Regions from separate parts of the Homo sapiens genome. Here regions 2, 3, 4, 5 and 6 are each linked to region 1. Evidence: promoter capture Hi-C in 16 types of primary human blood cells and fetal thymus (Javierre and others, 2016). All regions are on one chromosome and are shown on one strand. Each heading gives the region's core, a stretch centred on a gene start or on the middle of the fragment in contact. The rest is flanking DNA. Distances are from core to core; before and after follow the strand shown.

Evidence for each region. The method cuts DNA at HindIII sites, captures the fragments that hold promoters and counts their contacts. A CHiCAGO score of 5 or more calls a contact.
Region 2: a contact is called between a fragment that was not itself captured here and the fragment with the promoter of GBP5 in region 1, in 1 of 17 cell types (total CD8 T cells). The highest score is 8.5, in total CD8 T cells.
Region 3: a fragment that was not itself captured here is called in contact with the fragment with the promoter of GBP5 in region 1 in 4 of 17 cell types (total CD8 T cells, non-activated CD4 T cells, activated CD4 T cells and 1 more); the score reaches 7.4 in total CD8 T cells.
Region 4: the fragment with the promoter of GBP6 here is called in contact with the fragment with the promoter of GBP5 in region 1 in 8 of 17 cell types (activated CD4 T cells, total CD8 T cells, naive CD8 T cells and 5 more); the score reaches 15.1 in activated CD4 T cells.
Region 5: a fragment that was not itself captured here is called in contact with the fragment with the promoter of GBP5 in region 1 in 7 of 17 cell types (activated CD4 T cells, total CD8 T cells, non-activated CD4 T cells and 4 more); the score reaches 10.9 in activated CD4 T cells.
Region 6: a fragment that was not itself captured here is called in contact with the fragment with the promoter of GBP5 in region 1 in 8 of 17 cell types (activated CD4 T cells, total CD8 T cells, non-activated CD4 T cells and 5 more); the score reaches 29.9 in activated CD4 T cells.

What each region holds. Positions count from the first base shown.
Region 1 is chr1:89,270,194-89,275,385 of GRCh38, forward strand. It overlaps GBP5 (guanylate binding protein 5), which reads right to left and starts at 2,667. Exons shown (of 12, transcript NM_052942.5): 1 at 2,259-2,667; 2 at 562-669. It also overlaps the pseudogene LOC100421401. The HindIII fragment of the contact is 6,725 bases long and covers 1-5,192 here.
Region 2 is chr1:89,160,420-89,165,611 of GRCh38, forward strand. GBP7 (guanylate binding protein 7) reads right to left here. Exons shown (of 11, transcript NM_207398.3): 3 at 4,312-4,439. All of the region lies in intron 3 of LOC105378842 (a long non-coding RNA gene), which reads left to right. Among named protein-coding and RNA genes, the nearest start is that of GBP7, 13 kb to the right of the region's middle. The HindIII fragment of the contact is 480 bases long and covers 2,233-2,712 here.
Region 3 is chr1:89,178,041-89,183,232 of GRCh38, forward strand. It overlaps GBP4 (guanylate binding protein 4), which reads right to left. Exons shown (of 11, transcript NM_052941.5): 11 at 3,104-5,192. It overlaps LOC105378842 (a long non-coding RNA gene), which reads left to right. Exons shown (of 4, transcript XR_947579.3): 4 at 1,279-1,758. Among named protein-coding and RNA genes, the nearest start is that of GBP7, 4.6 kb to the left of the region's middle. The HindIII fragment of the contact is 218 bases long and covers 2,902-3,119 here.
Region 4 is chr1:89,361,883-89,367,074 of GRCh38, forward strand. GBP6 (guanylate binding protein family member 6) reads left to right here and starts at 2,177. Exons shown (of 11, transcript NM_198460.3): 1 at 2,177-2,245. The HindIII fragment of the contact is 2,752 bases long and covers 1-2,635 here.
Region 5 is chr1:89,342,152-89,347,343 of GRCh38, forward strand. No RefSeq gene overlaps it. Among named protein-coding and RNA genes, the nearest start is that of GBP6, 19 kb to the right of the region's middle. The HindIII fragment of the contact is 2,708 bases long and covers 660-3,367 here.
Region 6 is chr1:89,194,303-89,199,494 of GRCh38, forward strand. It overlaps GBP4 (guanylate binding protein 4), which reads right to left and starts at 4,640. Exons shown (of 11, transcript NM_052941.5): 1 at 4,493-4,640; 2 at 2,808-3,002; 3 at 995-1,122. The coding sequence starts at 4,532. LOC107985076 (a long non-coding RNA gene) reads left to right here and starts at 4,045. Exons shown (of 3, transcript XR_002958332.2): 1 at 4,045-4,106; 2 at 4,201-4,756. RefSeq lists a silencer at 4,444-4,738. The HindIII fragment of the contact is 2,961 bases long and covers 1,513-4,473 here.

The DNA.
Region 1 (5,192 bases), core at 1,417-3,916:
CAACTTCCTTTAATAATACTTAACCTATTTTTTTCTAACTTCTGAGCATCAATCCCTATAACCTAAAGAGTCTCTGGTTAAAAAAAATGTTTGAGCTATATGAGAAAAAGCAAATGCCATAAAAATATGCTTTTCTACTTTGCCTTATCATAAAGGATAGTTTTCTTCCATTTTAAAGGTGGTTATTTACTAAGGATGCTAAAACTTCACTATCCGCTTGACGAGTTCTTTCACTAAAATCTTACAATGAAAAGGTTTGGATTCTCCATCTCTTTACTAGCAAATTTCAAAAACTGTCATTTTACAATTATGAAGACCCATTCTCCCTGCTTCCTCATAGCTAATGCCCTGGAAATCATTATGTTGACATAAATTAAAACAGAAACTGCTTGGCAGCAGAAAATAGGATATCCATTTGCAAATGGTGTAGCACTAGGACATGGGAGTCAGGAAATGCCTAGTGCAAGCCTGACCCAGAAAGAGGCAATTTTGCAACAAATTTAGAGACTCAAATGGCAGGTCTCTTCTCATTCTAATCTATTTTCAATGTAGTATTAGTACCTTATATATGTAGAATTCTGGTTGCCTGATTTGTATGCAGCGGAGGCCAGAATAATTTTTCCACTAGAAAGATATGGGCACCTTGAAGTGATGATCTACAACAATTAGCTAGAAAAACAAAAGATACATAAGCCAAATCTATAAGCAGATATTGAGAGCTTACAAGATCTTATGATTTGGGATGATGTCACTAAGGAAGAGGGAATGAATGTGTCTGAGTGTTCAGACTCTCTTATGAATGACAATAGCATTGTATATCTACATTAATAATAGTATTTGACATGTTGTCCCCAATGTCATCTGGATAGCATCTTTAATGCTTTTAGTAAAGCCAAATTTCTAAAACATTATTGCAGATTTAATGTGTTCAAGCCACAAACATAACTGTTGCTCTGTTATTCATAACTTAGTGTTCTGGGATGCATTCTCCCTAACTGCTTGAGCCCTATAACCTTTGCAAATAAAAACAATGCAAGAATGGTTCAAAATACACACACAAAATGCACATTTTGCCCTTGCCTTAAATTAGACTTGATTTCCAACCCCAGCCCTACAACTGGCTATCTGTATCTCTCTGGCATTTCACTCAATTCTTTCAGCTTGTTTTCTAAAAAAGCAAAAGTAAATAAACAACTATTTATTAACATCAGTATAACTGCTGGCTTATGAAAGAGAGTGAGCGAGCTGCAGGAGATTTTAAAAAGTGCAAAGAAGGAAAATGCCCAAAAAAAAATACTAAGAGAAAATGCTCAGAAGTGGTAGTGGAAGGATTTCTGAAAGAAAACATCTGTTTTCAGCCATATGATTCTAGTTTGGGTTTTGCGCCTGCATTTGTATATGTAGTTGTTATTGCTTGCTTTTGCTTATTTTGCATAGTTTCTGGTTTGAATTTCAAGGAAAAGGAAAAGGCTCTTATTAAGGATATAAATGGAAATCAAACTAGTACAAAATGCTTGAAGTATGTGTCATGGTAAGAAATTCAAAGGAGAGAATTTCAACGAGTGAACAGTTGCCAGACAGTATTGAGGGATCCAGTTGGGCAACTGTTAAATTAGGTGATTCATAATAGTAAAGGCAATAGAGTAGTAGAAGCAGAACCCAACACAAAAGGGGTTAGTTAAGTGAGTAGATGCCAAGAAACCAACATGAATTAAGTCAGGGCTATTGCTAAAGGAAGAAATCTACTTTCAAACAAAGTACAAGACTATGACTAAAAATACATCACTGTTTTCATGAAACTTCTCTCTGGGCAACATTTTTTTCTTGTCCTTAATGTTTGCAAGCTACTTACATTGCATCATATTCATTGTTCTTTCTCATGAAAATAATAGCTATCATAGTTTTTGAAACTTTCATGCTGAAGTTCGAGTCAGTTTAATCAGATTTTATGAAGGACGAAGGTAACTTAAGTGGAAATTATGATCCTGAATAAGTCATAAAATTGCAAAGGAAGAAAAATAATTTGAAGGCATTTCAAACTCTTAGTTTAGTCACCACACACATTGATGTCTAATTCAGCAAGAGGCAGACACAGCTGGTACTTGATGAATTCTGCTGCCTGTCTGATAAGAATACAATTTATTCTTTACTGAGGTCTGATATACCACATCAGGATAAGCTGCATCCTATCCTTTGTAGAATGTTTCTAAAACCAAATGAATCTTGCAAATCTCTTCCACCTCTTGCCCCAGTCTTACCGTGTCCGGAATTGGTGGGTTCTTGGTCTCACTGACTTCAAGAATGAAGCCGCGGACCCTAGCGTTGAGTGTCACGGTTCTTAAAGGTGGCGTGTCAGGAGTTTGCTCCTTCTGATGTTCGGATGTGTTTGGAGTTTCTTCCTTCTGGTGGGTTCGTGGTCTGGCTGGCTCAGGAGTGAAGCTGCAGACCTTCGCGGTGAGTGTTACAGCTCTTAAGGCTGCGCGTCTGGAGTTGTTTGTTCCTCCTGGTGGGTTCGTGGTCTCGCTGGCTTCAGGAGTGAAGCTGCAGACATTCCCAGTGAGTGTTACAGCTCATAAAGGCAGTGTGGACCCAAAGAGTGAGCAGCAGCAAGATTTATTGCAAAGAGTGAAAGAACAAAGGTTCCACAGCCTGGAGGGTGACCTCAGTGGGTTGCCACTGCTGGCTACTTCTCTTATCTGGCCCCACCCACATCCTGCTGATGGGTCCATTTTACAGAGAGCCGATTGGTCCATTTTACAGAGAGCTGATTGGTCTGTTTTGACAGGGTGCTGATTGGTGTGTTTACAATCCCTGAGCTGGACACAAAAGTTCTTCATGTCCCCACTAGATTAGCTAGATACAGAGTGTGGATTGGCCTATTTACAAACCTTGAGCTAGATACAGAGTGCTGATTGGTGCATTTACAAACCTTGAGGTAGATACAGAGTGCTGATTGGTGCATTTACAATCCCTTAGCTAGACATAAAGATTCTCCAAGTCCCCACCAGATTAAATAGATACAGAGTGCTGATTGGTGTATTTACAATCCCTTAGCTAGACATAAAGATTCTCCAAGTTCCCACTAGACTCAAGAGCCCAGCTGGCTTCACCCAGTGGATCTTGCACCGGGCGGCAGGTGGAGCTGCCTGCCAGTCCTGCTCCATGCACTGGCACTCCTCGGTCCTTGGGCCATGGATGGGACAGGGTGCTGTGGAGCAGGGGTCAGCACAGGTTGGGGAGGCTCAGGCAGCACAGGAACCCATGGCGGGGTGAGGTGGGGAGCGGGAGAGGGGAGGAGGCTCAGGCATGGCAGGCTGCAGGTCCCCAGCCCTGCCCCACCGGGAGGCAGCTAAGGCCCTGCAAGAAGTGGAGCACAGCAGCTGCTGGCCCAGGTGCTAAGCCCCTCACTGCCTGGGGCCGCTCCGAGTGCAGGTCCCTCAGAGCCCAAGCCCACCCAGAACTCGCGCTGGCCCTCAAGCACCGGGCGCAGCCCCAGTTCCCACCCCTGCCTCTCCCTCCACACCTCCCAGCAAGCTGAGGGAGCCAGCTCCGGCCTCGGCCAGCCCAGGAAGGGGCTCCCACAGTGCAGCGGAGGGCTGAAGGGCTCCTCAAGTGCCGCCAGAGTGGGTGCCCAGGCAGAGGAGGCACCGAGAGCGAGGGAGGGCTGCAAGGGCTGCCAGCACGCCGTCACCTCTCATTACCTTGATTATAAAATCGGGAGAAGAGGTATTTTAGAGCTAGTAAGAAAACTGCTTCCATGAGGGACTGGGCACGGTGGCTCACGCCTGTAATCCCAGCATGTTGGGTGGCCGAGGCGGGTGGATGACGAGGTCAGGAGATCTAGACCATCCTGGCTAACACGATGAAACCCCGTCTCTACTAAAAATATACAAAAAATTACCTGGGCATGGTGGCGGGCGCCTGTGGTCCCAGCTACTCGGGAGGCTGAGGCAGGAGAATGGCTTGAACCTGGGAGGCGGAGCTTGCAGTGAGCCGAGACTGCACCACTGCACTTCAGCCTGGGTGACAGAGCGAGACTCTGTCTCAAAAAAAAAAAAAAAAAGAAAAGAAAAGAAAAAAGAAAGCTGCTTCGATGAGAACTTGCTGAGTTCGAACTCTCGTCTTTTACTTTCACTGTGGTGATTTCTCATTTATTTTCTTCACTCAGTCCTGGGGTTTTTGTTCTTCCCACCCCATTTTCCCTGCTCGAAAAAGGAGACAATTTGAATACAAAATATGGAATAACAGAAAGGGGGATTTTTGAAAGTTCTCTGTAGGAAATAGAAACCAAAAAGGAAATTCAGTGACTAAGCCAGATGACAAAGGGAATTGCCCAACTGTTACCTAGTGTAGATAGGCTGGATGTATTTGACCTGACTTCTTTGAAACTGCATGTTTCCTAGAAACTGCAGAGAATCCTTTCAGTGCCAGCCATACTCCTCCCTGCTTCCATTGTTGTTGTTACTAGAAGAGAAATTTGAGATCTTTCACAGTTGTTCAAAGTATGTGGTATTTCAAACCTAGCTTGAAATACGTTGACATTCATCTCCAGTTTGGGAGTAGGCCAGGGGAAGAGCTCATATGATTTTTGAGGTCTATTGTTGTGAAATGTTAGAGCTGCTCACACAGGACTAAGTTTATTACTTTCGCAGTAGGTTCAGTAGCTGAGAACTTTAACTCACAGGCAAGGACAAAGTTTTTGGCACTTAGTACATGATGAATGATAACAAGGATATTATTTATTAGACATTTGTAATGCCCTGGACAGGTTTCACTACTTTGTGTGGATTATTCTATTTTAATTCTCCCAACAAATGCTTTCTCCCAATTTTACAAAAGCTAAGACACAGGGAGATTTAGTAACTTGCCCAAAATCACAGAGCTACTAATAAATGGATCTTAAGACTGAAACCCAAGCACTTTATTGTAGTCCTTTTGTGTTTGTTGAGTGAATCATCATAATAATCATCATTATTATTGTCCCTTTTTAATAAATGGATTCTAAGATCTGGACACTAAATATCTCATATTATCCTGGTTTCAATCCTACAAGACAATTTTTTTTCTATCTTTATTTTACAATGAACAGAGTGGCTGTTAGGCAGTATTTTTGGAGCTTTAGTTCCTAGACAAGGATTTGTGAGCAAGGGATATTTATTTTGAAGGTGCTCATAAGAAACGGGGTAGGACAG
Region 2 (5,192 bases), core at 1,223-3,722, 110 kb before region 1:
AAGCAAAGTGAAGAACACAGATTTCACAGATGGGATGCCTGGCTTAGATTCCAGCTTGACTGCTGGTAGCTGTGTGACCGTGGGCAAGTTTCTTGACCTCTCTCTACTCAGTGTCCTTATCTGTCGAGTAGGGATAATAATAGTACATATTTCATAGGGTCGTTGTATGATTAAACAAGTTATTATTTACTGAGTGCTTAGAATAGTTCCTGGCACATAGTTAGTGCTATATGTGTTTAGTAAATAACTAAAATTAGAAATAGAGGTGACAAAAAAGAAATAATTTCGTCACAATAAAGGCTTATTTCTTTCCTTTCCAAATGCTTAAAAACAACACTTAAAAAAATTTCTTTTGAAAAAAATAGAATTAGTATGTTTTGGCTTTCATACTGCACAACAGGGATTTGTTACATAGGTAGACTTGTGTCATGGGGGTTCGTTGCATATATTATTTCATCTCCCAGGTATTTAGCCAAGTACGCATTAGTTTTTTTTCTTGATCTTTTCCCTCCTCCCATTATCCACCCTCAGATAGGCTCCAATGTGTGTTGTTTCCCTCTATGTGTCCATGTGTTCTCATCATTTAGCTCCCACTTATAAGTGAGAACATGTGGTATTTGGTTTCCTGTTCCTGCATCCATTTGCTAAGGATAATGACCTCCAGCTCCATCCATACCCTGCAAATGATCTTGTTCTTCTTTTATGGCTGCATAGTATTCCATAGTGTATATGTACCACATTTTCTTTATCTAGTCTATCATTTATGGGCCTTTAAATTGATGCCATGTCTTTGCTATTGTGCCATAATGAATATTCACGTACACGTATCTTTATAATAGAACAATTTATAGTCCTTTGGGTACATACCCAGTAATGGCATTGCTGGGTCAAATGGTAGTTCTGTCTTTAGGTCTTTGAGTAGTTGCCACACTGTCTCCCACAATGGTTTAACTAATTTACACTCCCACCAACAATGGATAAGTGTTCCTATTTCTCTACAACCTAACCAGCATCTGTTATTTTTTGACTTTTTAATAATAGCCATTCTGACTGGTGTGATCATGATAGTATTGTGGTTTTGATTTGCATTTCTCTAATGGTCAGTGATGTTAAGCTTTTTTTTTTCCATATGATTGTTGGCTGCATGTATGTCTTCTTTTGAAAAGTGTCTGTTCATGTCTTTTGCCCACTTTTTAATGTATTTTTTTGTGTGTGTGAATTTGTTTACGTTCCTTATAGATGCTGGATATTAGTCCTTTGTCAGCTGCAGAGTTTGCAAATATTTTCTCCCATTCTTTAGGTTGTTTGTTTACTCTGTTGATGGTTTCTTTTGCTGTGCAGAAGCTCTTTAGTTAGTTCCCATTTGTCAATTTTTGCTTTTGTTACTATAGCTTTTTTGGTGTCTTCATCGTGACATCTTTGCCCATGCCTATGTCCTGAATGATATGGCCAGGGTGGTTTTCCAGGGTTTTTATAGTTTTGGGTTGTATATTTAAGTCTTTAATCCATCTTGAGTTAACTTTTGTATATGGTCTAAGTAAAGGGTCCAATTTCAATCTTCTGCATATGGCTAGCCTGTTATCCCAGCACCATTTATTGAATAGGGAATCTTTTCCCCATTGCTTTTTTTTTTTTTCAGGTTTGTCAAAGATCAGATAGTTGTAGTTGTGCAGTCTTAAATTCTGGGTTATCTGTTCTGTTCCATTGGTCTATGTGTCTGTTTTTGTACCAGTTCCATGTATTTTGGTTACTGTAGCCCTGTAGTATAGTTTGATGTCGAGTAGCATCCAGCTTTGTTCTTTTTGCTTAGAATTGCGTTGGCTATTTTTTGCCTGAGCTCTTTTTCTGTCCCATATGAATTTTTTAAAAACAGTTTTTTTCTAATTCTGTGAAGAATCTCAATGGTAGTTTAATAGGAATAGCATTGAATCTATAAATTGCTTTGGGCAGTAAGGTAATTTTAACAATATTGATTCTGTCTCTCCATGAGGAAGGAATGTTTTTCCATTTATTTGTGTCATCTCTGATTTCTTGGAGCAGTGGTTTGTAGTTCTCCTTGGAGAGGTCTTTTACCTCCCTAGTTAGCTGTATTCCTAAGCAGCAATTATGAATGGGAGTTTGTTCCTGATTTGGCTTTCAGCTTGACTGTGGTTGGTGTATAGGAATGTTAGTGATTTTTGCATATCGATTTTGTATCCTGAGACTTTGCTGAAGTTGTTTATCAGCTTAAGAAGCTTTTGGGCTGAGACTGGGGGGTTTTCTAGACATATAATCATGTCATTGACAAACAGCAAGAGTTTGACTTCCTCTTTTCCTGTTTGGATGCCCTTTATTGCTTTCTCTTGCCTGATTGTCCTGGCCAAGGCTTCCAATACTATGTTGAACAGGAGTGGTGAGAGAGGGCATCCTTGTCTTGTGCCGGTTTTCAAGAGGAATGCTTCCAGCTTTTGCCCATTTAGTATGATGTTGACAGTGGGTTTGTCATATATGGCTCTTATCATTTTGAGCTATGTTCCTTCAATACCTAGTTTATTGAGAGTTTTTACCATGAATGGACTTTGAATTTTATTGAAAACATTTTCTGCATCTATTGAGATAATTGTGTGGTTTTTGTCTTTATTTCTGTTTATGGGATGAATCACATTTATTGATTTGCATATCTTGATCCATTCTTGCATTCCAGGGATAAAGCCTACTTGATCATGGTGGATAAGCTTTTTGATGTGTTGCTGGATTTAGTTTGCCTGTATTTTGTTGAGGATTTTTGCATTGATGTTATCAAGGATATTGGCCTGAAATTTTCTCTTTTGTTGTTGTATCTCTTCCAGGTTTTGGTATCAGGATGATGCTGGCCCCATAGAATGAGTTAGGGAGGAGTGCCTCCTCCTCAATTTTTTGGAATATTTTCAGTAGGAATGCTACCAGCTTTTCTTTGTACATCTGGTAAATTCAGCTATGAATCCATCTGTTTCTGGGCTTTTTTTTTTTTTGGTAGGTGGGCTATTTATTACTGCCTCAATTTCAGAGCTCATCATTTGTCTGTTCAGGGATTCAATTTCTTCCCAGTTAAGTCTTGAGAGGGTATATGTGTCAACAAATTTGTCCATTTTGTGTAGATTGTCTAGTTTATGTCCATGGAGGTTTTCTTAATATTGTATTTATGTGGGGTCAGTGGTAACCATCCCCCTGTCGTTTCTGACTAATCCTATTTTCAATTTATACTCAGACTAATATAAATAAAGGAAAAGACTGCACTTAATACTATAAAGCAAAATTATCTAGAATTAGCCAATTTGCAAATTTTTGTGTGGGGCTAGCTCACACTATTCTAGAAGTCAGTGATGACTACATTGCCTAGCCCAGTAAATTGGGTAAAAATTTTATAAATGTTCCCGGTATAGCTGGTGGTTTTCTTTTCTTTTTCTTTCTTTTTTTTTTGTTTTTTGTTTGTTTGTTTGTTTTGTTTTTGAGATGGAGTCTCACTCTGTCACTCAGGCTGGAGTGCAGTGGCATGATCTCGGTTCAGTGCAACCTCCACTTCCCGGGTCCAAGCGATACTCCTGCCTCAGCCTCCTGAATAGCTGGGATTACAGGTGCCCGCCTCTGCGCTGGGCTAATTTTTGCATTTTCAGTAGAGATGGGGTTTCACCATGTTGGCTAGGCTGGTCTCGGACTTCTGACCTCAGATGGTCCACCCGCCTCGGCCTTGCAAAGTGTTGGGATTACAGGTGTGAGCCACCGTGCCCGGCTAGCTAGTGCTTTTCTAGACATTTAAAAACAGGTTATTTCAGTGAAACTCTATTTTCCTGATTCTACCTTCAAGCCTACAAACCCCACACACCTTAACTAGTAGCACCCATTAATCCCACAGGTTACAGCTTCTTCCAGGAAGCTTTCTCCTAAATTGTATCATTAGGTTAGGCCCTCACTTTCAGCATCTGAGCACTCTAAATGGTCACAATGTTGTCTTCGCCACTAGGCTCTGAGCATTTACCTGGTTCATTGATTAGCGTAGAGCTTTGAAATTCAGGATTCTTTATTAATATAGCACACAGCCCTAGACTTCTGCCATGCAGTATTTATTAAATTTTATAATTCATCCAACTGTTAAAAATAAGAAGATGTATCACCAATAGTCCAAAATATTTGTGCTTACCAAGAAAGTAAGTTCCAGAAAATGAAATTTAGCTTTGTTTCCCATAATCAGATTTGTGATTCAGGAATAGGCCAGAGAAGTTGGATTGATACTATGCATAAAAACATAAATAGAGAATCAAAGGTAAAGAAGATTTCTCTATGTCTCTTTCTTACCTTTTCCATATCACCCAGGCCCTCCGTGTCCAGAAGGATCAGGGTGTGGTTTGGCTTGGAGGGGTGGGGCACACACCACATCCAGATGCCTTTGGTTTCAGACTTCACTGTGCAGCCCAGAGGGAAGCCTTCAAGGGAAGAGGAGAAACAACATATAGTGACAGCAGAATCCAGGCAGACAAGGCCTATACCAGTTAAATGTATAGGAACGTTAAGTTCCTGGCAGGGGAAACGGGTTGCTTCCATTTCAGCAAAGACAATCAATCAAATCTTTATTTGTATAAATGACTTTCTCAGGAGGTACTTGGGTCCCTTATTCACTTCATATCTATATGGGCTCAAATAAGTTATATTACAGAATTAATGTAAACTCTATTAACCTGTTGCTATGGTCTGAAGTTAGTCCCTCCAATCCTCCTTTCATACGTTGGAACTTCAGTGAAGTCTGAAACCAAACCCCAAGGTGATGATATTAAGAAGTCAGAAGTGGGCTGGGTGTGGTGGCTCACACCTGTAATCCCAACACTTTGGGAGGCCGAGGCAGGTGAATCACAAAGTCAGAAGATAGAGACCATCCTGGCCAACATGGTGAAATCCTGTCTCTACTAAAATACAAAAAATTAGCCAGGCATGGTCGTGCACGCCTGTAGTCCCAGCTACTTGGGAGGCTGAGGTAGGGGAGTCGCTTGAAACCAGGAGGCAGAGAGATTGCAGTGAGCTGAGATTGTGCCACTGCACTCCAGCCTGGTGACAGAGTGAGACTCCGTCTCAAAAAAAAAGAAAAAAAAAAAAAGCCAGAAGTGATTAAGTCATGAAGGGTCATGTCCTCAGTAATAAAGTTAATGCCCTTATAAAAGGCCTTGAGGGATGAGTTCATGTCC
Region 3 (5,192 bases), core at 1,761-4,260, 92 kb before region 1:
AATGCTGGGCGAGGTGGCTCACACCTGTAATCCCAGCACTTTGGGAGACTGAGGTGGGTGGATCACTTGAGGTCAGGAGCTTGAGACCAGCCTGGTCAACACAGTGAAACCCCGACTCTGCAAAAATACAAAAAAATTAGCCAGGTGTGGTGGTACATGCCTGTACTCCCAGCTACTAGGGAAGCTGAAGCAGGAGAATCGCTTGAACCTGGGAGGCAGAGGTTGCAGTGAGCCGAGATAGCACCACTGCACTTCAGCCTGGGTGACAGACTGACAGTCTCTCTCAAAAAATTATTTTATAAAACATGAATAAGAAAAGACATTAAAATTAAAATTAAAATGACTAACAGTCACCATTATTACATGTAATTGAGACTACTAAAATAGTTTTACATGCAAATTGTATAAGAAGAATAGAATGTGTTTTTTTTTTTTTTGTAAAACGTTATAAGAAGGTATGGAAAAGTAAATTATTGCCTAGGGTTAAACAATTGTTTTAAATTAAGATAAAGCTAAAAGTTCAAATAAGTGGTGGAAGGTTTCTAAAAATCTTGCAAAAGAAATTCTCTGTGTGAACATATTGACTAAATTCAGAAAGGTATTATATTGTTTTTCTGTAAACTGAGCATTAAAAGTACAATAAGGTTTTCTTAAGGCACTAATTTGCTCTTCGGCAAAATTTGTAAAGGGTTATAAAAGGCTTTTGCTTCTTTAATATTTCTGAGTCAACCTTTTGGCAAAATACATCATTCATGGTAATCTGGAATTCTATTTCATAGTATCAAGTGTTTTAAACTCCGAACATATTTAACAGCCTTCCCAAAATCAAACTTCAGTTTCAAAATTGTCTTTCCCGATGCCTGGCTTTTTGGAAGGATCAGGGGGCCCCTGAATCACCCAGAGAAGAGGTAAACAGGATTATTTAACATGTTTAGGTACATAGTATTGCCAAAATGTTGTTCAATCTTTAGGTTATATTTTTGTGAATAATGCTAATATATGTCCCAAAATTGTATGAGATTTCTAAAATTTTTAATGTCTAAGTACATGCTGTCAATTATAATTATAGTTATTATATTAAGTTATAGTAGACCACATAAATAACCAAATTTCCTTGTATAAAGCTACTAATCTAAGTAGAACAAAAAAATTAATTGAATAACCAGGTTTTGTTTTTCCTCTTGCAAATGTCTGTAACGAGCATTCTTAACAGCATAGGTATCCACCTCCTGAAGTTCCAGTTAAATCTTTTAACCAAATTCACTTTCTCTCACCTAGAGACCATCAAGCTTCAGAAGATCATGTGACAAATGTTCCAGCCAGTTCCAGTTGAAGACACCACCCCTGGCCATCAAGAAGCTACTCTGCCTCCACTAGACAGAGCAGGGTGACAGTTCCGTGATCCCCAATAGGTAGGGACTTTGCTTCAAGCCAGCATGAGGCAGTTACAGAAGAAAGACCATTAGTCACTCCACCTCCCATAAAGATTTATGGGGATGACATCTCTCAGGGAGGAAATGAGGCAGGAAAATAGGATCTGGAGGCATAGAACATAAGGCCTATTCACACTTCAGCTATGCCGGGAAATATTATCTCCATTTACATAGGGCATACACAAAGTAACCAATGGAAACCTCTAGAGGGTATTTAAATCCCCCAAAATTCTGTAACAGGACCCTTGAGCCCCTATGCTTGGGCCCACTCCCACACTGTGGAGTGTACTTCCATTTTCAATAAATATCTGCTTTTGTTGCTTCATTCTTTCCTTTCTTTGTGTGTTTTGTCCAATCCTTTGTTCAAGATACCAAGAACCTGGACACCCTCCACTGGTAACAATAAGCTTGAGGAACATAAAGTCAATGGAGTGTCCAGTCCCTCAGAGAGAACAGGGTGGCAGATTAAGACAACTGGGCATATTCTTTCTGACTCAGTGAGTCTTTTCTGCATGACTTCCTAAGATTGTATATTTTATGTTGAGAGCTCTAGAGATTGGGAATACAGTAAAGATATGGTAAATTGGGGACCTACTGGAGGGTAGAATATGTATTTAATCAACCCAAACTTGAGCCTCTGTGCTGGCTTTTGTAGTTGGAACTAAAGATAAGTTGATGAGGAAAATGAAGCGCCTGAGATCAAGAGGTGGTAGAGAGAAGTAAATAAGCATTTTTAATTTCACAGTTATATAAAAAGTTCAATGGTAGGAGTAACAAGTTGGTGCCATGGCAACCCAAAAGGGGCATCTCACCAAGCCTCAGAAAGTCAGGAACCAGGACATCTTAAGGATGAGCAGGATTTGGTAGACAAAGGATAGAAGGTGAGGAAGCAGGGTTGTTTTAAGAAGTCTTTGTCCCCTGCAAAAGGGCCCTCAGTCAAGAGAATACTAGTTGACAACCCAGGGAACGTTGTATTTGACCATATATTTGGGGATAAACTTTGAAATCTTGTTGAAAGGCCATAATAAAAACAAAATTAGGATGCATGTTTTGTGCCCTTTCTAGTTCTCTGTTCCAAAGAGAAGATGTTTCCTGTTGAGCAGACTTATGCTATTTCTAGTAATATTAATTACTTTCATCCTGTTGTGGGACCTCTGCCATCCATGTATTATGATTTCAATTTTTAATTTGAATAATTGTATTTATCCATTTTTGAATACATGATGAATTTACATAAAATGTTGAAGACATATATGATGTAGAGTTACCCTCTCATTTCTCACCTTAACTATTCAGTTCCATTCCTGGTATGACCAGGATACTAGTATATTTTTTATTTTTCCAGAGGGAGCTAATAATGTACACACATATTCATTAGTTCCTAAATTAAGTGGTAGCAGCATACTTTCTGCATCTTTTTTTTTTCTAATGCTATATCTTGGATACTTTCTCATAGTAGTACAAATAAAGCTTCCTTTTTCATTTTAGTGACTGTAGAATATTCCTTTGAAAGTATGTCCCAAAATTTACCTCATCGGTAAGTGACAGATATATATATATTTATATACCAAATATATACCAGATATATTTATATTTATATACCAAATATAAAAATAAAATATATATATTTAGTTTCACTCGTGTCTGTGTGAAGAGACCACCAAACAGGCTTTGTGTGAGCAATAAAGCTTTTTAATCACCTGGGTGCAGGCTGGCTGAGTCCGAAAAGACAGTCAGTGAAGGGAGATAGGGTTGGGACCATTTTACAGGATTTGGGTTGGTAAAGGAAAATTACAGTCAAAGGGGGTTGTTCTCTGGCGGGCAGAGGTGGGTGTCACAAGTTGCTTAGTGGGGGAGCTTTTGAGCCAGGATGAGCCAGGAGAAGGAATTTCACAAGGTAATGTCATCAGTTAAGGCAGGAACAGGCCATTTTCACTTCTTTTGTGATTCTTCACTTGCTTCAGGCCATCTGGACGTATGTACATGCAGGTCACAGGGGATATGATGGCTTAGCTTGGGCTCAGAGGCCTGACATTTAGTATATTTACTAAATAGATATAAAATATATTTACTAACTATAAGTATATATTTACTAAACATATACATTTATATTTATATGTACTATATAAATACCCAATAGTAGAATTGCTAGACAAAATGTATGTACATTAAAATTTTGATATACAATTCCAACAGATCACTCTCACTAGCCAATATGAGACACAGTCAGTTTCCCTAACTCTGTGCCAGCTCACTGTCCTGTTCTTCCTATGACAGAGTTGAAACAAGAACCTTATAGTTTTCCTTTGAACAACTTTTATTGTTAGTAAAATTCAACATTTTTAATCTCATATTTTTGTCTATTTAAAAAATGTGGCGTTAATAACATTAAGCCAAGAGCCAAATCAGGAATGCAATCCCATTCACAATTGCCACAAGAAGACTAAAATACCTAAAAATACAGCTAACCAAGGAAGCAAAAGATATATATAATGAGAATTACAAGATACCCCTGAAAGAAATAAGAGATGTCACAAACAAATGGAAAAACATTCCATGCTCATGAATAGGAGCACAGCTTTGTAAATAAAGGACATAGGGTGAGGAAGCCGGGTTGTTTTAAGAAGCCTGTGTCCCCTGTGAAAAGGCCCATGGCATATCTTGTAGAATTACAAGGAGTTCATTCTGTAGCAGGATGAGCTGCAGACAAAACTTCTCAGACACCGAGTTGGAGAAGGAAGGGCTTTTTTCAGCTGGTGGCATCAGCAAGCTGCTGCCTTAAAATCCAAGCTCCTTGAATGCACAATTTCTGTCCCTTTTAAGGGCTCACAACACTAAAGATTTCACATGAAAGGGTCATGATTGATTTGAGCAAACAGGCGGTACATGACAGGGGCTGCATGCACTGGTGGTCAGAGAGAAACAGAACAAGGCAGTGAGTTTCCAAATGTTCTTCTATACAATGTCTGGAATCTATGAATAACATCGGTTTCTAAGTTATGAGTTGATTTTTTTTTTTTTTTTTTGAGACGGAGTTTCGCTCTGTCGCCCAGGCTGGAGTGCAGTGGCGCGATCTCGACTCACTGCAAGCTCCGCCTCCTGGGTTCACGCCATTCTCCTGCCTCAGCCTCCCGTGTAGCTGGGACTACAGGCGCGTGCCACCATGCCCGGCTAATTTTTGTATTTTTAGTAGAGACGGGGTTTCACCGTGTTAGCCAGGATGGTCTCGATCTCCTGACCTCGTGATCCACCCGTCTCGGCCTCCCAAAGTGCTGGGATTACAGGCAATGAGTTGATTTTTAACTACTGGGTTTAGGCCAGGCAGGCCCAGGCCTGGTTTTGGGCCTGGCGCTGGGCTGCCTGTCTTTGGTTTTACTTCCTTGTTGTTTTTTCTTAAAACAGGTACTGAGTATCAAACAATATAAAACAATATAAGAAGGTCTCTCTCTTCCCTCAATTCTAGCTGCAAGTTTTGAGCACTAGACAGCAGAAATAAATTCCTAAAATGTTGAGTTGAGCAAATAGTTCAATGCTATCCCTATCAAACTACCAATGACATTCTTCACAGAATTAGAAACTACTTTAAAATTCATATGGAACCAAAAAAGAGCCTAGCCAAGGCAATCCTAAACATAAAGAACAAAAGGGGAGGCATCAAGTTACCAAACCTCAAACCATACTACAGAGCTACAGTAACCAAAACAGCATGGTATTAGTAGAAAAACAGACACACAGATAAATGGAACATAACAGAGAGTC
Region 4 (5,192 bases), core at 927-3,426, 91 kb after region 1:
CCAACCTGGAGCCCACACCCCGCCACTTTCTCTGTTGGCTCTCATTCTCTGGGCCACTATCCATCTGCCCTACTCACCGAAAGGCCAAATATCAAAAGTAAGAACAATCCCTCTGCCCCAGAGCCCACTGAAATTATTCCAGCTAGCCAGTCCTAAACCTGCTTGCCCTGCTAGTTCTAGTTCACAGTTGCTCTCGACATTTACTCCAGTTCTTTGCCTCCTTGACTGCAATTGGAACCACCTGGAGGTGGGGCGAGGCTTTAAAAAAACACTCACACTCACCCTCAACTCTAGACTTACTAAATCAGAGTCTCTGGTGATGGATCAGAGCTCAAGTTTTTAAGGAGAACCTCAATTGATGTTTATGTGCAGCAAGTATTAAGAATCACTGGTTTAGTCTTATAACATCTAAAGGAGGCCTCCTACTAGACTCTTTACTTTAGACAAGCTCTGGTCTTTGACTTTTGGCCTCTTCATAAATGCCTTCCAAACTGAAGGTCACATTCCCTTGGTTGGCAAATGCTATTAGAAAAAAAACAGCTTCAATACTCCACTTAACTCTTTGGGCGTTCACCTTCCCTTGGAATTTGGTCTTTAAGATCATTCATGACAAATTAGTCAATTTTTAATATTGCTTTTGAAAATATTAAACATTTTTGAATCCAGAATTTTCCTTTTTTTTTGAGATGGAGTCTCGCTCTGTCGCCCAGGCTGGAGTGCAGTGGCACAATCTCGGCTCACTGCAAGCTCTGCCTCCCAGGTTCACACCATTCTCCTGCCTCAGTCTCCTGAGGAGCTGGGACTACAGGTGCCCGCCACCACACCCGGCTAATTTTTTTGTATTTCTAGTAGAGAGAGACAGGGTTTCCCCCTGTTAGCCAGGATGGTCTTGATCTCCTGACCTCGTGATCCGCCCGCCTCGGCCTCCCAAAGTGCTGGGATTACAGGAGTGAGCCACCGCACCTGGCCCAGAATTTTACATTTTTAACACAAGTCTTTGTCTGAATAGAGTATTCAGATTAGTCTACCACACTCCCCAAATCCTCAGCCTAAGTTATTGCCAAAACTCATGTCTGCTCATTCTGCCACTTGCTTCTGTTCTCAAATCCATTTAGCAGTGCAGCCATGGTAGACAGTCCCAGCATGCTGCTATGTCCTCTGTAGAGAGTCTTTCTCCTTTTCTCACTCAGATGTTTCTCCAAGCTGTGAAAGGGTGTCTATTTTGCCCAAGGGCAGCTTGTGAATTCAAAATAGTTAAAGTCCCTGGGGATAAGACTCAACCAATGGAAACTGTGGGTTGTTGGATAAATAGTCCACATCAAGGGTCCCAAACCCCCAGAGCATGGTCTGTTAGAAACTGGGCCACACAGGAGGTGAGTAGGGAGAGAGCACTAAGGCCTGAGACCTGCCTCCTGTCAGATCAGCAGCAGCATTAGATTCTCATAGGAGCTTGTACACTGTTATGCACTGCACATTCCACCTTCTATGTCCATGTATGCAGATTTTTTAGCTTCCACTTATGAGTAAGAATGTGGTATTTGACTTTCGGTTTCTGAGTTGTTTCACCTAAGATAATGAACTCCAGTTCCATCCATGTTGCTGTAAAAGACATGGTTCATTCTTTTTTTAAACCAGTAATATCTTTAGCTCTCTCTCTTTCTCTCTCTCTCTTCTGTGTGTGTGTGTGCATGTGTGAACACATTTAAAATATCAAAAGTTCTTCACTAACAAAAGACCCCAGAACTCAAGAATTCCCACTAAGAGAAAAATGCTTAAAATATTCTTGGTTTCTAAGGCTTTGCTTATGTGACTACTGTAGATTTCCTGTTTTTCTTGTGTGCCTAGGAAACTAAAGCCACCTGGGAACGGTATCAAGAAGAAAGCCTGTGAAGCCTTCTAAGATGGGAAAGACAAAAGAAAGCTGGCAGGATTGTGCTTGCTAAGGTGTGACTGTGCAGTATCTGTGGCTTTTTCTGACCTCCTCCCACCCCTGCACCCAACACCCATCCTCAAACTCACATCGGATGATTCAGGCATGGCTCTGCTAACACTTTATTAAAAGCATGGATTAATTTTACTTCCAAGTTTATTTTTACTGCACCATCCCATTTGTGGAAACAACTAGCTTACTCAGCTTTTTTTTCCTTTTATAAAGGAAAGAACAGAAAAGTAAAAGGAGGAAAGAAAACAAGAGGTGAGTGAGGCAACTGAAAACTGTTCTTGGACCTGCGGTGCTATAGAGCAGGTATGTTCACTTTCTTTTAAATGCAACTTAGTTCCTAACTCAAGACTTGGTTTCTGATTCAGAGTGGTAACTGAGGAATGGGCAGGAAGGGCAGGGTGCCTGCTGCCTGGCCTGCAGGAGTCTGTGGCTGGCTTTAGTTCTGGGGAAGCTCAGCTTCTCCACTTGAACCAGTGACAGCCGGGCACGCCGCGTCCCCCTGGATGTGCTGTTCCCTGATCATCAACTCAGGACAGCAGTGAGTGGCCTGGAATGAGCCCTGGTGGGCGCCTGCCTGGCTATCTCTCTCAGGTCCTGCGGCAAGCCCCAGAATGCAGAGAACAAGGAGCTTCCAGGCAATTATACCGGAAGGGAGAGTTTCTTGTCTATCTTTCTAGTGGTCACACTTAGGAAAGCTTCAGAATAAGAGCTCTATAAATCTCTATGTAGAAATAAACTTAGGCCCCACATCACTGGTCTTTATTACTTAAAAATAATTATATAGTCCAAACTCTGTGTGTGCGTGTGTGTGTGTGTGTGTGTATGTGTGTGTGGGGAGGGGGTGGGGGAGGAGGGGGGTGTTAGTTTCCCATAGGAACATCAGAGTCTCTTGTAGCTCTTGCTAAACAGATGGATACTTAGGCCTGGGAATCTGGGTTTGAACAATCCTCTCAGTTGATTCTTTAAAAAAAAAAAAGATGAAGAATAGACACTATGTTTAAAATAAAAAAGATTTTTTTAAAAACCACCATGTCCCATGGTGGTTTGCTGCACCTATCAATCCGTCATCTAGGTTTTAAGCCCCGCATGCATTAGGTATTTGTCCTAATGCTCTCCCTCCCCTTGCCCTCCACCCACTGACAGGCCCCAGTGTGTGAGTTTCCCACCCCCACCCCCAGCGCCAACCCCCCGCCGCCCGTGTCCACATGTTCTCATTGTTCAACTCCCACTTACCAGTTAGAACACGCAGTTTTTGGTTTTCTGTTCCTGTGTTAGTTTGCTGAGAATGGGATCTAATTAAAGAGCTTCTGCACAGCAAAAGAAACTATCATCAGAGTGATCAGGTGATTCTTATGTACATCAGAGTGTGAAAACCAGTCCTGAATAGGATTGAACAGCTGTATTTCATTTAGTAGAAGTTAAAAGGTCTGTGGTTCCCACACAGCTAAGAAACCAGAGACCTGGTTTATATAAAGTTGTTTGCAGGAGCAGCCACATCTTCCTAGAGCTGCCTTTATTGTTCACTTTAAAGAAGGGACTGTACAGTTGCAGTCACTGTAATGTGATGAACACGTTACACATCACATTACAATGCATTTCACTGTGGAAATCAGGACCTCGTGTTTGATCTCCATTTTCCTTACTCCCCTCAGTGAAGAATCAGACAAGAGCAGGTTGTACAGCAACAGCGTGCTTGAACTTTACAGTTTTGCTTCCGTGAAAAATTTATTTGTAGTTTTTGTTTCTTAGTAACTTATAGTTTGTATATTTTGTTGAAATATATAATCTAATGGACCAATTGTTATTGTAATTATTGTAGTAACCTCCATTTAATTCAACATTTACTGAAATCCTATTGTGTGGTGCATGCTATGCAAAGATATAAACTTATAATGTCTCGTTTTATTATCAAAACACCCTCCAGGTTGGATGTATGATTTAACTCACAGACCCCTATAATTAACAGGCTCAGCTAGCTTGACCTCCTTGGTCAAGGCCACATAAGTAGTGAATGATAGAGCTGGTATTTTTGGTGGCATTAGATGCATCTTGAGTGTCTGACATATCAATTCTAAACTGAGTATTTGAGGCATTTGAAGACAATATTATGTTTACATTTTTCTAATTATAAGGAAATACAGGTATCATAGAAAACCATTTTAATATAATGGCAATAAAAATGTGCCAGGAGACCTACAGAATAATTGTACTTTCAATACTAAATTTATGGAATTAAACTTCACCTCTAAAAATATTACAATTAAATCCCATATGCCTTTCACCTCGATTCACCCAAAAGTGACATTGACTTTATCTCTCAAAAAGAAATCTCTCTAACTTATCTATTAATATGTATGTACATAATTTCTCTCTCTCTCTAGATATCTATAATTTATCTCCATAAATAATATGCAATATTATATGTATTGTTATTCTTATTCTTTTTCTTATTCTTGTCTGTGGGAGTAAATTGCAGAGAACCTGACCCTTCTAGGCTACGTATTTCAGCCTGTACTTGAATTCTTTAGATTCTGGACATTCTCCTGCTTCCCTTTTGGAAAGATAGCCTGTATTCTCTAGAGTTTTCTCATCCCATAGTGGATCCTTTCCCTTCTCCCTTCTATTCCCATCACTCTTCCAAACCTGTAGATAAAAGACAAACATATAAGGTCACACTGATGCATTAGAGAACAAGTTTCAGTATATGATGATCATTAAAAAGTTACTGCAGGTTGTCGATCAAAAACCTTATAGCATAACCACTGTCTTTGAGGTAGGTTATTTTGACAGATAAGTGGTTGCAGTAGCATAACACAGAGGAATAGGTTGCCCGATTATCCAGGCTTTTGTCTTTTACTCTCTTTTTTGTTGGTAAAATATACATAATAAAATTACTATTTTACTAATTAAGAAAATACTTCGGTGACATTAGTTGTGCAGCTATCTCCAGAACTTCATCATTGTAAACTGAGACTCTCTACCTTTAAACAATGATTCTGCATTCCCTCCTCCCCCAGCCCATGGTAGCTACACTTCTACTTTCTGTCTCAATGTATCTGATTATTCTAGTACCTCATACAATATTTGTTCTTTTGCGCCTGGCATATTTCACTTGGCATAATGTCTTCAAGGTGATCCATGTTGTAGCATGTGTCATAATTTCCTACATTTTTATGGCTGAATAATAGCTGATTGTAGGTATATACAACATTTTGTTCATCTATTCATCTGTTTAGAGTCATTTGAGCTG
Region 5 (5,192 bases), core at 764-3,263, 71 kb after region 1:
GACTGCAAGCCAAATAGTAGTACAAACCTATGCAGCCAGAGAAGACCTCAAGGAAACCCCCTTAGAGAACCCAGGCTGGATTCCCTTTGCAGATGGAAGCTCTTTGGTAGAACAAGGAACCCATAAAGCAAGGTATGCAATAGTTACTCTGAATGATATTGTTGAGAGCACACCTCTCTTCTCAGGTACAAGAGCTTAACTAGCCAAACTAATCACCCTCACAAGGGCATTTGAATTAAGCAAAGGAAAAACAGCCAACATTTATACTGATTCTAAGTACACTTTCCTAGTCCTACATATCCATGGCACTATCTGGAAAGAGAGGATCTTCCTCACAGCTAATGGGTCTCCTATTAAATACCATCAGGAGATAAATAGACTATTATCCTCCATTTTCCTCCCATGGAAAGTGGCAGTAATACATTGTAAAGGCCACCAAAGAGGGATAGATAAAATAACTGACAGAAATAGGCTGGTGGGCTGAGCAGCTAAATCAGCAGCAAGGGGGTCCCAGATCTCTGACCCACTTGAATCCCCACTAATCTGGGAAGGACCCATCAGAGAAATAAAACCTCAATATTCTTTTGTGAAAATAGAAGGGGCCACCTCTCAGGGATACATCTTTCAATCCTCAGCATGGCTACAACTGGAGGATGGCAAGCTTCATCTACTGACTGCCAACCAGTGGAAAGTTCTTAAAAGGATAAAATCTATCAACTGGCCCAGAGATTGTTCTCAGGTAAAAAACTGATAGAAATGGTTAAACAGGTTGTTAATGCTTGTGAGACCTGCCTTAGAAACAATCCTCTTAATTGACAGCTTCTTCCCTCAGGAACCCAAAGTATAGGAGGCTACCCAGGGGAAGACTGGCAAATGGATTTCACTCATATGCCAAAAGCAAAGGGCATCCAGTACCTCCTAGTATGGATAGATAATTCACTAACTGGGTAGAAACATTTCCATGCCAAACAGACAAAGCCTCTAAGGTGACAAAAGTACTAATCAATGAGATAATTCCTTGCCTTGGACTCCCTAACTACCTCCAGAGCAATAATGGTCCCTTGCTCAAGGTGGCTGTCACCCAAGTGTTCTCAAAGTCACTAGGCACACAGTACCATCTTCATTGTGTCTGGAAACCACAATCCTCAGGAAAGGTAGAAAAGACAAATGATATTATCAAAGGCATCTCAGGAAACTATCTTAGGAGACTCACCTCCCCTGGATTACCCTTCTCCCCGTAGCCCTACTGTGTATTAGAAACACTCCTTCAAAGATAGGTTTGTGTCCCTTCAAAATGATGTATGGACACCCTTTTCTCACCAATGATTTCTTGCTGGACCAAGAAACCTCTGATTTAATTAAACACATAACCTTTTTGGCCCATTTCCAACAGCAACTGAAACAACTGTCAGAGGCCCAATCCCATGAACCAAGGCCACTTCTATTAAACCCAGGGGTCCTAGTGCTAGTAAAGGTACTTCCTTCCCTCTCTCCCTCTATAGGTCCAGGTTGGGAGAGACCTTTCACTGTACTTCTTTCTACTCCTATGGCAGTGAAGGTCACTGGAATAGAGTCTTGGATTCATTATACTAGATTAATGGCCTGGAAAGCCAATGGAGTCACCTGAGGTGACTCTGTCAACCCAAAAGAGCACTCAAAGTACCAATGTGAAGAGATTGGGGACCTCAAGCTAAAAATCACAAAAGATAAGTGTTAATAATTAACCTTCCATGGATATCCTCTTTATAGTCTTTCCCATGCTTGCTGTTCTTACCTTTGTTCTGTTCTATACAGTGAGGCACAATATTTTTTTCAGAATGATTAGTATATTTCACTTCTTATTGCTGTAATATTTGGCAGTAGATTCCTTCCTTGTATAATACACATGTTTAACCCATGCATACTTAACCTTATAAAAACTTACTTTTTTTTCCTCTCACCTAGAGGCTATCAAACTCCAAATTGTCAGGCAATGGAACCCCAGAAGAACGGCTCCCTTCTGCTTGGGACCCCTAGATAGACCTCTGGGAGAAATCTGACTGCTGTTTTCCCTGAAACAATGCCCCTTATTAGCAGGAAGTAGCTAGGATTGGTCATTGTCCATATTCTAATGGCAGTTAGATGTGCCTCTTCAGAGGGGAGAAATGATACAGACAGGAAACAGGGAAATACTGGTTAGAAGAGGGTGGTTCCCCAGGAAAGACCCTGCCCTCAAGCCTGAAAAACTATGGCCCTAAATGAGAATAGGCATTCTGTTTTTGCAACAGAAAGTTGTCTTTTGGCCCACCACACACCCCTATTTTGTACCCATATAAACCTCAAACCCCCAGTTCCACAAGGAGACATACAGGAGAGCAGAATGGCAGAACAGCAGAGCAGAGAGGAGAAGGAGCATCTGAATATCGAGAGTTCAGTTGGAAATGGTTGGAGAGATTGGCCACTAGACAGGCAAACTCCAGAAGAAGATTATCTTCCCACTCCATCCCCTTTCCAGCTCCCCATTCATCCCACTGAGAGCCACCTCTACCACTCAATAAAACCCCCGCATTCACCATCCTCAAGTCTGTGTGTGAACTGATTCTTCCTGGACAATGGACAAGGACCTGAGTACCAAGGGGGCACTAAGCTGGTTAAAACATAAGCCATCTGCAGATGGCAAAGCTAAAAAAAGTGTACTGTAACACACACCCATTTGGGCTTTAGGAGTCACAGGCACCCACCTCTAGATGCTACCATGGGGCCGGAGCCCTAAAGTGCATATCCCAGCTCCTGCACCTGCCTGACTGCCTGCTCATGTTCCTGTAAAGGGATTGAGCACATACGATGGCTGAAAAGATGAGACATACCCTGTCACACGTCCTGTGATGGGGGTCACGGGACTCTCCCATTTCACTACCGGACACTGGCTCTGAGCTGACATTGATTGCAAGGGACCCAAAACATCATTGTGTTCTTCCTCTTAAAGTAGGAGCCTATGGAGGTCAGGTAATTAATGAAGTTTTAGCTCAGGTCCAACCTACAGTGCGTCTGGTGTGTCCCTGGACTCATCCTGTGGTCATTTCCCCAGTTTCAGCATGCATAATTGGCAAAGACATACTTAGCAGATAGCAAAACCACCACATTGGCTCCATGAATGGTAGAGTGAGGGCTAATTATGGTGTGAAAGGCCAAATGGAAGCCATTAGAGCTGCCTCTACCTAGAAAAATAGTAAATCAAAAAGAATATTGCATCCCTGGCAGAGATTAGTGCCACAACAAGATCTTGAAAAATGCAGGGGTGGTGATTCCCACCACATCCCCATTCAACTCTCCACTTGGCCTGTGCAGAAGACAGATGGATCTTGGAGAATGACACTGGATTATTGTAAGCTTAACCAAGTGGTGACTCCAATTGCAGCTGCTGTACCAGATGTGGTTTCATTGTTTGAGCAAATTAACACATCTCCTGGTACCTGGTATGTAACCATTGATTTGGCAAATGCCTTTTTCTCCATTCCTGTCCATAAGGCCCACCAGAAGCAATTTGCCTTCAGTTGACAAGGCCAGCAATATACCTTTACTGTCCTACCTCAGCAGTATATCAACTCTCTGGCTTTGTGTCATAATCTTGTTTGGAGTGATTTTGATTGCTTTTGTCTTCTACAAGATATGACACTGGTCCATTACACTGATGACATTATGCTGATTGGATCCAGTGAGCAAGAAGTAGCAATCACACTGAACTTACTGAAGTCTGTTGAGATATTTCTTCCAAGGTGAATGATAAGTTTCTGCATTTGGCCCCTCCTACAACCAAGAAAGAGATGTAACGCTTAGTGGGCCTATTTGGATTTTGGAGGCAACACATTTCTCATTTGGGTGTATTACTCTGCCCCATTTATCAAGTTACCTGAAAGGCTGCCAGTTTTGAGTGAGGACCAGAACAGGAGAAGGCTTGGCAACTGGTCCATGCTGCTGTGCAAGCTGCTCTGCCACTTAAGCCATATGACCCAGCATAGTGCTAGAGGTATCAGTGGCAGATAGGGATGCTGTTTGAAGCCTTTGTCAGGTCCTCATAGGTGAATCACAGTGGAGGCCTCTGGGATTTTGGAGCAAGGCCCTGCCATCTTTTGCAGATAACTACTCTCCTTCTGAGAGGCAGCTCTTGGCCTGTTACTGGGCTTTGGTGGAAACTGAACATTGGACTATGGGTCATCAAGTCACCATGCGACCTGAACTGCATATCATGAACTGGGTGCTTTCTGACCCATCTAGTCATAAAGTGGGTCATGCACAGCAGCATTCCGTCATCAAATGGAAGTGGAATATTAGTGATCAGGCTCGAGCAGGTCCTGAAGGCATAAGTAAGTTACAAGAGGAAGAGGTTCAAATGCCCACGGTCACCACTCCTGCCACCCTGCCTTCTCTCCCCCAGCCTGCACTGATGGCCTCCTGGTGAGTTCCCTATGGTCAGTTGACAGAAGAACAGAAGACAAGGGCCTGATTTACAGATTCTGCACGATATGCAGGCACCACTAGAAAGTGGACAGCTGCAGCACTACAGCCCCTCTGTAGCACTGCAGCCGGTTTCTGTCCCTGAAGGACATTGGTGAAGGAAAATCTTCCCAATGGGCAGAAAATTAAGCAGTGCAACTGGTGTGCACTTTGCATAGAAGGAGAAATTGCCAGATGTGTGATTATATACTGATTGATGAGCTATAGCCAGTGGCTTGGCTAGATGGTCAGGGACTTGGAAGAAGCATGACTGGAAAATTGATGATAAAAAAAAATTGGGGGAACAGGTATGTGGATGGATCTCTCTGAGTGGTCAAAAACTGAAGATATTTGTATCACATGTGAGTGCTCACCAATGGGTGACCTCAGCAGAGGGAGATTTTAATAATCAAGTGGATAGGATGACTCGTTCTGTGGACACCACTCAGCCTCTTTCCCCAGCCACCCCCGTCATCGCTTAATGGGCCCATGAACAAAGTGGATATGGTGTCAGGGGTGGAAGTTATGCATGGGCTCAGCAACATGGACTTTCACTTACCAAGGCTGACCTGACTATGGTCACCACTGAGTGCCCAATTTGCCCATGGCAGAGACCAACACTGAGCCCTCGATATGGCACCATTCCTTGGGGTGATCAGCCAGCTACTTGGTGGCAGGTTGATTATATTGAACCTCTTCCATCATGAAGAGGGCAGTGG
Region 6 (5,192 bases), core at 1,743-4,242, 76 kb before region 1:
TCACATTACAAGTTCTAAGGTCAGCTAGTAGTTCTGCTGCTGCCATCAGTTTATGTTTTGATATGTTTTGATCGCTTGACAAACGTAATTAGACACAAAGAAGTTTATGAAAACTACAACATATTAAGAATAAATGTTTCACTTTGATATTACACTAAGAGAATAATTCAGACCTTTAATACTGAAATTTAAAGTTCAGAATTGCTAAGTTGGTGCTTCCTTCCCTCAACTCCCTTTTTTCAATAATGGAAGCCAAGGATCTACTGCTGCTACTTTCAATTCAGACATAAGACTAATGCAAATAAGAAGAATGGACTGATCGCACCTAACACTTTAAGACAAAATACCTAAAGTTATCTCACTTACAATATTCTTTGTGGGTCTAATTCATGCTATTAAAGAAGTCAGTGGAGAATTAATCTCCAAAGCTCAGAGAGTTGAACCAAAATGTTAGTGATAAAATTAATGCTTTTCTGAAAACTACTGAAATAGATTCCTTCACTAAAACCCTATTTTTTCATGGTCCCCTCCTCCAACCCCACACGCCTTAAATAGTAGATCCCATTGTTCCCATGGGTTACAACTTTCTCCAACAAGCCTTCTCTAAGTCGAATGACTGAACTAGCTTCTCACTTTTTGCATCTGTGAAACCCTGTACTTATCATACCCCATATTTCTTGTCTTCACAACTAGGCTCTTGGCCTTTACCTTGTTTACTGTTTTATCTGTAGTACTCAGTACAGAGCCCTGGAATTCATCTCTTCAATACATATTTATTAAATTATATCATTCACTCCAGTGTTAAAAATAAGAAGATCTACTCTTAAATATGCCTCAATACTTGAAATTAATAAGGAAGTCTGAGGAAACAGAATTTAGCCTCATTATTCATAATTAGATTTGAGTTTACAGAGATATGTACAGAAGTTGAAGGGAGCTGAAAAAATTAAAAGATGAGAGGTCAACCATGAGCGGTGAAGTTTCTCTGCCTTACCTTTTCTACATCGCCCAGGCCCTCGGTGTCCAGAAGGACCAGGGTGTGGTTTGGCTTAGAGAGGTGGGGCACACACCACATCCAGATGCCCTTAGTTTCAGACTGCACCGTGGAGCCCAGAGGGAAGCCTGCAGGGAAGAGGAAAAATAACAAACAGTAACAGTGGATAGACCAGGATGTCCCAGGATTACACCGGTTAAACTTGTAGGAATGTTTAAGTGGCTGACAGGGGAAAAGGGTTGTTTCCATCTCAGGCAGGACAACTAATCTGACCTTTATATGTATTAAGAATTTTCTCAAACTTGTTTTCTTTCTTAAACTTGTTTAGTAGACAGCGGTTCAGTCCCTAATGGTGCCGAGCTGCTGAGCCAGAGAGGAAGTAGGACATTAGGGGGAAGAAATGGCTGCATGGTCTTTCTTTAAAAACAGAAGCACCTAACAGAGCCATAGGTAGATTGTCTTAAAAGTCAGTAAGAACCAAAAGAGAAACCTGGTAGGAAAAAATAATTTAAAAAAAAAGCTTTCACAAAATAAGAAATGAAAATGGCAATTGATATGTGAAAAGGTACTTAAACTTACTCATAGTGAAATAAATGGCATGCAACAATACATTCTACAGGGCAGCACAAGTTAAAAGGCTTTATGTTACTGAATTTTTCGCAGGATGTAAAATTCTCAGTCACTGCTAATAAGCATGTAAATTGCATTTGAATTTTGAAAAGCTATTGGACTTTATCTAGAAATTTTATGTACTCTCTGATTCAGAAATCCCACTTCTGAGAATATTACACAAAGGAAGATTTTGTACATGTGCACCAGGATATAAATAATAAGAGTATTAATGACAGCCTTATTCATTAAAGATAAAAACTGGAAAAATACCAATTTTCAACAATAAATAAATGTACTGTCCTTAGGTAGTGGCATACTGTCTGAGGGTATAAATAATGGGTACACATAGTAACTAGAGAAAACTTATAAACTTCTTATTGAGCAAAAGAAGCAAGACATCCAAAAATACACACAATATAATTTCCTTTATGTAAAGTTTAAAAGCAGACCAACCTAAACTATGTTTTAGAATGCATATATATTATGTAGAACCATTTTTAAAAACCAAGAGTCAAAGAAGTGTGCCCTGAAAACAAAAACACTGGTGAGTTCTAGTGAAGGTATGACAGGGTATGATTTTTGGATGTTTAGGTTTGGTAATGTTTTATTTCTTGATCTGGATAGTGATTTCTCATGTATTCACTTTATTAACTTCACTGTAAAGGTATGTTGTACATACTCTTCTTTATGTGTCATAGTTCACATATTAGAAAGACTAACTAGAAGGGAATATAATTTATCAGAGTTTTGCCATGAAATGAAGCAAAAAATTAGAAATGGTAGCCCAATTTAAATAGAGGATACACAAGAATTATAATGCCTGTCCTTCTTCATATTTATTTTTTAAAACAGGATCTATTAAACTATATTTGTGTGCTATTTGAAGTGACCAGGTATCCTACACAAAAGTGATGAATGAGAAAGAAAGGGAATAATTGCTGGGGCTGAGCCCCTGAAGAGGTGAGCATAGATGGGATGAAGAAGACCCATGGAACGGATCTTTCGATAGGGTTGAGATGATTCTTTACTATTGGACTAAAGAGTGATATATATTTGAGATTGTAAATTTAGTGGTGAGAATTAGAAGTTTTCTTCATTGGGAGAAGTCATGCCCTTCTTTAGGATGACCCTAGAGGGGGTGTGATCAGCTGTGTTATCACTGGTTCCAAGTAAATGGCTCCTGTCCTAGGACCACACTCACCATTGCGCTTTCCTGCAAGACGATTCATGAGATAGGATTTTCCTGTGCGGTATAGCCCTACAATGGCCACCACCACCACGGGCTGAGAAATCTTGTCAAGAATCTCTAATGCCTTTGAATTCACTGTCAGCTGCTCTTCCTGGTTTTCCACTAGACAAATGGGGGCCATCATGATGGATTCAGATTCTGGATAACCTGTAACCCAGAAAAAAATACTCAGTAGAATACAAGATCTTGAAGTCATCCCTAAGGGCTACCTAAGGCACATACATATTAGCTTTTTGCTTGTGGAATGGTATATAAAATTTCTACATTTTAATGGTATATAAATATATTTCTACGTTTAATGGTATATAAAATTTCTATGTATATAAAATTTGTACATTTCAAATGGAAAAATATTTAGTTTAGCATGTCAAAGACTAGTACAGATCTGTTATGTACATTATTTATGATTCTTACAAGAACGCTAAAAATGCCTTGTCAAGGTGATGCATAAAATAAACAGAATTAGAAAATCAAGGCACTGATGGCAGAATAATTCCACTCCTGGAATAAATAGGGGCAGGATGTTACAAAAAGGAGATGAGGAGTGGTTAGAAAAGGCTCCAGGCATTCCAGAAGAATTTGCTCTCTCATTAATTTAATAAAGAGTATTGCGTACCTACCATGTGCTAATTAACACCGTTCTAGATTCTCAGCAACAAGCAAGGAACATAATTGATACAAACTTCTGCCTCTTGGAGCTCTATTTGTTGTAACCCAGCGAGTTACAGAGAAACGCCACACTCTGAGACGAATTCAGGAGTCCTTTATTAGCCGGCGACCGAGAGACGGCTAGTGCTCAAAATTCTCTCGGCCCGAAGAAGGGGCTAGATTTTCTTCTATACTTTGGTTTAGAAAGGAGAGGTTGGGGGGAGGGGTCTAGTTAAAACAATCCTACAGAAGTAAAGTAGGCAAAAAGTTAAAAGGATAAATGGTTACAGGAAAGTAAACAGTACTAGGTGCAGGGGCTTTAATTCTATCACAAGGTGATAGAAGCGGGGCTTTGGGCTTTATCAACCAGACACAAACGCGGGGGGCTCTGGGTGCTGTTAACCGGGCGAATTCCTGGGAACTGCGGGTATGGCTTGCCACAGTACCTTATCAGTTAATTGCATTCTTGGATGTGCTGGGAGTCAGCTTGCACAAGTTAAGTCCCTGAGGAAGCGGGTGGGTAAGGGGCTGCAAGTGAAGGAGCCGAGATGCAGACTGTCTGGCTCTTTCAGCTAAGGGAGAGTCAACTCAGGTTAAAACAAGGTAGGGTATCACATATTCTAGTGGGGGACAGAAAATTAATAAAACAAACAAGCAAAAAATGTGTATATGTATACTAGATGATGGTATTTCGCAGGAGAAAATGCCACAGCTCTGGGAGGAAGCCCGAGGAGGAGCAGCGCATCCTGGAGACACCGGTGCGCCTCTGGTCGCCGCCTGTGGACCGTCTAGAGACGCTGGGCCACACGGAGCAAAGCACTCAGGGGTTCAAGCAGCATCAGACTTCCCCGCGAGGTTCCTCCACTGCCTTTGTCACCCGCCAGTGTGAAGTCTCCAACCCTCCCCGTGTGCAGTCTGCGCTTGGGAATTTGTTGTTGTTTGTTATAACCCAAATATACTTGAAAGGTAAAGCTTAAGAGCAAACTTACCTGGTGTGGGCACTGCAGCGTGAAGAGTTCTCTCACCCATTGCTCTGTCCTCCTGCGCCTGGATCCTCGAGAAACGGACTGTTCTTAGAAGCTGAAAGTCCAGCCGGATTTACAGACATCCAAGTAAGAGTCTGTGAGAACCGAAATTGAAAGGACATGCACTTTGTGGGGAGTTGACTGTTGGGGATTTTCCTGTTTATCAAGACAGGAAACTAAAGGAGCTTGAAAGTGCTGGTTCCTCCACACCAGACTCCTGAAACTCAGGTTTGTTTGTCCCTCTTCCACCCTTAGCTTAGGTATCTTTCGCCTCCAAAATGAATATAGAGCAGCAGACATGAATGTTGTTTCATCTACCTGTCTCTCAGGGGTAATTTTGTCAGGGAAGAAATTTGAGTTTTTGTTTGCTTTTATTTTTTTTTACATGCTTATATGTTTCTGTTTCTCATCTCTTTTCTTTATTTTTTCATTAACCATAAAATATGTGTGTGTTTGTGTGTGTGTCTATGGATATCTATGTATCCTCTAACGTTGTTGCCCAGAGGTGCGGTGGTGGCAAGTAAATACTTCTCTTTCAAAACACAAACATCTCATTGAAACTGGATCTTTTGGAGGACAGGAGGATGATTGGACCATAAAAAGCATAATTTATAATTAGGAGTCTTACCCAGGCTACCAGAAAAATGGACTCAGTTCCTAAAAT